2 separate regions of the Homo sapiens genome follow, and region 2 is linked to region 1. Evidence: promoter capture Hi-C in human tissues and cell types (Jung and others, 2019). All regions are on one chromosome and are shown on one strand. The core of a region is centred on a gene start or on the middle of the fragment in contact, and the rest is flanking DNA. Distances in the headings are between cores, read along the strand shown.

Evidence for each region. Contacts are between HindIII fragments. The study calls those that stand out against the background at their distance.
Region 2: a contact is called between a fragment that was not itself captured here and the fragment with the promoter of ERVV-1 in region 1, in 1 of the 25 tissues and cell types used here (psoas muscle).

What each region holds. Positions count from the first base shown.
Region 1 is chr19:53,012,416-53,015,609 of GRCh38, forward strand. It overlaps ERVV-1 (endogenous retrovirus group V member 1, envelope), which reads left to right and starts at 1,506. Exons shown (of 1, transcript NM_152473.3): 1 at 1,506-3,194. The coding sequence starts at 1,676. The coding sequence ends at 3,109. All of the region lies in intron 1 of LOC124904758 (a long non-coding RNA gene), which reads right to left. The HindIII fragment of the contact is 3,820 bases long and covers 1-2,514 here.
Region 2 is chr19:51,981,398-51,984,390 of GRCh38, forward strand. All of the region lies in intron 1 of ZNF350 (zinc finger protein 350), which reads right to left. Among named protein-coding and RNA genes, the nearest start is that of ZNF350, 3.9 kb to the right of the region's middle. The HindIII fragment of the contact is 5,256 bases long and covers 1-2,993 here.

The DNA.
Region 1 (3,194 bases), core at 256-2,755:
CAAAAAAAATTTTTTTTTTTTTTTGGTATTTTTAGTAGAGATGGGGTTTCTCCATGCTGGTCAGACTGGTCTTGAACTCCCAACCTCAGGTAATCCGCCTGCCTCGGCCTCCCAAAGTGCTGGGATTACAGGCATGAGCCACCGTGCCCAGCCAAATTTTTTTTTTTGTTCAATGTTGCCCAGGTTGGCCTCAAACGCGTAGCCTTGCCTCCTTGTGACCCAGGACAACCGGCCAGAGCCAATGCAGCTCCCTGTCCTGCTTAGTTGAGCCAGTTCAGCATTGGGAAGCTTACCCAGGGAAAGACTGATGGATGTATTTCACTCAATTGCCAGCCTGTAGAGGCTATAAATGCCTTCTGGTGTTTGTGGACACCTTTATTGGGTGGGTTAAAGCCTTTCCTACAAGAACAGAAAAGGCCCAGGAAGTAGCCAAGGTACTTCTTAAAAAAAAAAAAAAAATCATCCCGGCCGGGCGTGGTGGCTCACTTCTGTAATCTCAGCACTTTGGGAGGCCGAGGCAGGCGGATCACGAGGTCAGAGAATTGAGACCATCCTGGCTAACACAGTGAAATCCTGTCTCTACTAAAAAAGAGAAAAAATTAGGTGGGTGTGGTAGCGGGCGCCTATAGTCCCAGCTACTCAGGAGGCTGAGGCAGAAGAATGGTGTGAACCCGGGAGGTGGAGCTTGTGGTGAGCTGAGATTGTGCCACTGCACTCCAGCCTGGACAACAGAGCGAGACTCCGTCTCAAAAACAAAAAGAAAAAAAAAATCACCCCTCAGTGTGGGTTTAGTTTGTGTTTACAAAGTGACAACGGCCCAGTTTTTATTTCACGCACCCTTTAATTAGTGACAAAAGCCCTAGAAATAAAGTACTCCTAGCACTCCTGGAGAACACATTCCTCTGGCAAGGTAGAAAGCACTAATCAAACTATTAAAAGGACCCTGAACAAAGTGTGCCAGGAAACCTCCTCACCATGGTTAGAACTCCTGTCCGTAGCACTGTTCTGAGCATGACCCCTAATATTACTTATGCCTTCCTACATGCAGACCTAATGTTAGATCCAGAAGTTACCCAATTAATCAAATACATAACATCACTGGCCCAATTTCAACAAGCCATCCAGGAGTTTGAGCAAAAGGTACTGCCTGCCACTGACCCCTCCAGTAATCAACCCTTATACTAGCCAGGGTCACAAGTCCTCATCAAAACCTGGAGAGATGGGTCACCCAGGTCTCAACTAGCCTGGGTCTCTCCTTTATGGAAAGGCCCCTTTATTACTTTCTACCCCGACAGCTATCAAAGTTTCTGGAATCTCTAGTTGGATACATCACTCCTGAGTAAAACTGTGAGAAGGTCCCGAAGAACCAACAACAGAATCAGCATCTGAGTAGTCTCATGAGCCAGCCACTGGAGAGCTTCCAATTCCTCTTCAAGTGAAAAGATAAGTAAAGCCTTCTCTCCTTTCACCTCAAAAAAAGGTCTCTCAGTACGGGGAATCTTGGTTGCGGTGGCATCGGTTCTTCTCCTTATTTTGACCCACACTGGCATGCCACCTGAAGTCCCGATAACAGCCTGATTTCTCACTAAACACTCCATCGAACCATTTCATTATTTGTCTCTCCTATTTTCAGCACTTTCCTTTTGCTTTCACAAAGCTTAAGGGAGAATCAGCTATGACAGAGAAATTCCTTTTCCTTTATCTTTCCCTCCTTCCCATGCCCCTACTCTCACAGGCACAGTGGAATGAAAATTCCCTTGTCAGTTTTTCCAAAATAATTGCTTCGGGAAACCATCTAAGCAACTGTTGGATCTGCCACAACTTCATCACCAGGTCCTCATCTTACCAATATATTTTGGTAAGAAATTTTTCTTTAAACCTAACATTTGGTTCAGGAATCCCTGAAGGCCAACATAAATCTGTTCCGCTCCAGGTTTCGCTTGCTAACTCAGCGCACCAAGTCCCCTGCCTGGATCTCACTCCACCTTTCAATCAAAGCTCTAAAACTTCTTTCTATTTCTACAACTGCTCTTCTCTAAACCAAACCTGTTGTCCATGCCCTGAAGGACACTGTGACAGGAAGAACACCTCTGAGGAGGGATTCCCCAGTCCCACCATCCATCCCATGAGCTTCTCCCCAGCAGGCTGCCACCCTAACTTGACTCACTGGTGTCCAGCTAAACAAATGAACGATTATCGAGACAAGTCACCCCAAAACCGCTGTGCAGCTTGGGAAGGAAAAGAGCTAATCACATGGAGGGTTCTATATTTGCTTCCCAAGGCACACACTGTCCCCACATGGCCAAAATCTACTGTTCCCCTGGGAGGGCCTCTATCCCCTGCATGCAATCAAACTATTCCAGCAGGGTGGAAATCGCAGTTACACAAGTGGTTCGACAGCCACATCCCCCGGTGGGCCTGTACCCCTCCTGGCTATGTATTTTTATGTGGGCCACAAAAAAATAAACTGCCCTTTGATGGAAGTCCTAAGATAACTTATTCAACCCCCCCTGTGGCAAACCTCTACACTTGCATTAATAACATCCAACATACGGGAGAATGTGCTGTGGGACTTTTGGGACCACGGGGGATAGGTGTGACCATTTATAACACCACCCAACCCAGACAGAAAAGAGCTCTGGGTCTAATACTGGCAGGGATGGGTGCGGCCATAGGAATGATCGCCCCATGGGGAGGGTTCACTTATCATGATGTCACCCTCAGAAATCTCTCCAGACAAATAGACAACATAGCTAAGAGTACCAGAGATAGCATCTCTAAACTCAAGGCCTCCATAGATTCTCTAGCAAATGTAGTCATGAACAACAGATTGGCCTTAGATTACCTCTTAGCAGAGCAGGGTGGAGTCTGTGCAGTGATCAGTAAATCCTGTTGCATTTATGTCAATAACAGTGGGGCGATAGAGGAGGATATAAAAAAGATCTATGATGAGGTTACGTGGCTCCATAACTTTGGAAAAGGTGATTCAGCAGGGTCCATTTGGGAGGCTGTGAAGTCTGCCCTCCCCTCCCTCACATGGTTTGTCCCTTTACTGGGACCAGCTGCACTTAATAGCCTGCTTTCTCCTCTTTGGCCCTTGTCTCTATAATTCACTAATTAAATATGTCTCTTCCAGGATATGGCAATTTCACACAGAGCCCCTAAAAATGGAAAGAGATCATCCAATCTTCCTT
Region 2 (2,993 bases), core at 190-2,689, 1.0 Mb before region 1:
TCACCCCCATTTGTGCAGTCCCATGGGTCCATGTGGGTTACGGCCCGCCACCGCGCCTGGCTGATTTTTGTATTTTTAGTAGAGATCGGATTTCAGCATCTTGGTCAGGCTGGCCTTCAACTCCGGATCTCATCACACACCCGCCTCAGCCTCCCCACATGCGGTTATTATAGTTGATATGTCTGAACCAAAATGATATGGGAAGCTTGAGAATAAAAGGTTGGAGACAATATGCCACAGAGAGAGTAACCAAAGATAATCTGTTATAACTATATCTCAGACAAAACTGACCAGAAATCCTAAAGAATTAACAGAGAGAAAGAGAAACAATGCTCACTGAAAAGAGGTGAAATTTGGCTCTTCATTCATAGAAATACACCATATGTATACCCCTAACAACAGTCTTGAAATGTATACAGCAAAAAATAGAACCAAAAACAAGAAATAGAAAATTCAGACTAAAGACTTTAACAGACCTTTCCTAGTAACTGACAGAACAGACCATCAACAAACAAAATAAAATTTATAAATGAGAAAGAAATGAATCTTTTATCTGAGGAATGTGACTCCCTTTAAATTATCAGGTCTAGAGAGGCATTAAAATGTGACAGCAGTCTTTCTGATAGGGGTTCCCCTGAAAAAAAGAAAAAAGAAAAAATTAAAAACTAAAAAAAAAATTTAATGTGACAATAGTCACATCTCATTTCCCCCTCAAGCTAAATAATTATCTCTTAAAGCCACTTGCTATGTAGGCTCTAGACTAACTCACACTGAGTAGCCATAAAATGCCATTCACTGGACATCCTAACTCATAAAACCCCATAGTTAACAATGTACAGCCAATTGTTAATTGATATTATTTCTGTAAACCAATGAGAATTCTTGCCAAACAACTTTATGTCAGCTCACGGTTTGTTCCCTTTTGACTTTAAAACCTGTTTCTAACAAAATCCTAACAGAGCACTTAACCAAGGCAACCTGAAAGTATTTTCCCAGGCAGCTGTCCTCATTTTGGCTCAAGTAAACTCTTTAAAATTGTATTTTGTGCAGTTTCCTCTTTTAGGCTGACATAAACGATATCATTTAGAAGAACTCGAATATATTTTTAAAATTAGATTTACTGAGATAAATTTTAACAGTTTTAAATAAATGCAAAGATGTACTATAAAGATGGGCTGGAAAACAAAGCATTTTAAAAATGTCAAGTCTCCCAAATCTACAGATTCAATGAAATCACAGTCACAATCCCAAACTGATACTGAAAAGTTTAAATAGCTATAAACTTTTTTTTAAAGTTTGAAAAAAAAGTTAGAAGACTTGCCATATCAGTTATGAGGACTTATAAAGCTACTTTAATTAGGACAGCACAATATTAGTACAATAACAGGCAAATAGGACAAAGGAACAGAATAAAATCCTTATAAGCAGAATTAAGCACATATAGAGACTCAATGGCAATGATAGCACTACAGGGAAGTAGATAAAAGCTGTCTTTTCAATAAATGGAACTAAGGGCGCCGTGGCTCACGCCTGTAATCCTAGCACTTTGGGAAGCTGAGGAAGGTGTGGGGGAAAGAGAGATCAGACTGTTACTGTGTCTATATAGAAAGAGGAAGACATAAGAAACTCCATTTTAATCTGTACAAAGAAAAGTTCCTCTGTCTTGAGATACTGTTAATCTGTAACCCTAGCCCCAACCCTGTGCTCAGAAACGTGTGCTGTGTTGGCTCAAGGTTTAATGGATTTAGGGCTGTGCAGGACGTGCTTTGTTAAAATGTGTTTGCAGGCAGTATGCTTGGTAAAAGTCATCACCATTCTCCAGTCTCAAGTACCCAGGGACACAATGCACTGCGGAAGGCCGCAGGGACCTCTGCCCAAGAAAGCCTGGGTATTGTCCAAGGTTTCCTCCCACTGATACAGCCTGAGATATGGTCTCGTGGGAAGGGAAAAACCTGACCATCTCCCAGCCCAACACTCGTAAAGGGTCTGTGCTGAGGAGGATTAGTGAAAGAGGAAGACCTCTTTACAGTTAAAATAAGAGAAAGCCATCTGTCTCCTGCTCCTCCCTGGGAATGGAATGTCCCGGTATAAAACCCAATCATACATTCTATTTACTAAGATAGGAGAAAACCACCTTATAACTAAAGGTGAGACATACTGGCGGCAATACTACTCTTTACTACACTAAGATGTCTGTGTAAAGTCAAACATAAATCTGGCCTACGTACACATCAAGGCACAGGACCTTTCCTTAAACTTATTTATAACACAGAGTCCTTTACTCACATGTTTTCCTACTGACCCTCTCCCCACCATTACCCTATAGTCCTGCCACACCCCCCTCACCAAGATGGTAAAAATAGTAATCAATAAATACTAACAAAACTCAGAGACCAGTGCCGGTGTGGGTCCCCCATATGCTGAACACCAGTCCCCTGGGCCCACTTTTCTTCCTCTGTACTTTCTCTCTGTGTCTGATTTCTTTTCTCAGTCTCTCATTTCCACCTTGCAAAAAATACCCACAGGTGTGGAGGGGCAGGCCCCCTTCAGGCAGGTGGACCACTTGAGCCAGAGTTGGAGACCAGCCTGGCCATCATGGTGAAACCCCATCTCTACTAAAAATACAAAAATTAGCCAGGCAAGGTGGCACCTGCTGGTAATTCCAGCTACTCGGGAGGCCGTGGCACAAGAATCACTTGAGCCCAGAAGGCAGAGGTTGCAGTTGAGCCAAGCACGCCACTACACTCCAGCCTGGGCGACGAGAGCAAGACTCTATCTAAAAAAATTAAAAAAAAAAAAAAAAATCAATAAATGGTACTGGGGATGGGGACAGAAAGTTAAAACCCCCCTCACAACATACACAAAAACCATTTTAGAATCAACTGTCAATTTCAATGGTAGAAACATATCAATAAAGCTTTAAAGAACATTAATATAGGAGAATCTCTCAATGTTATTAGGGTATGGCCAGATATTTTAAAGAGGCCACATAA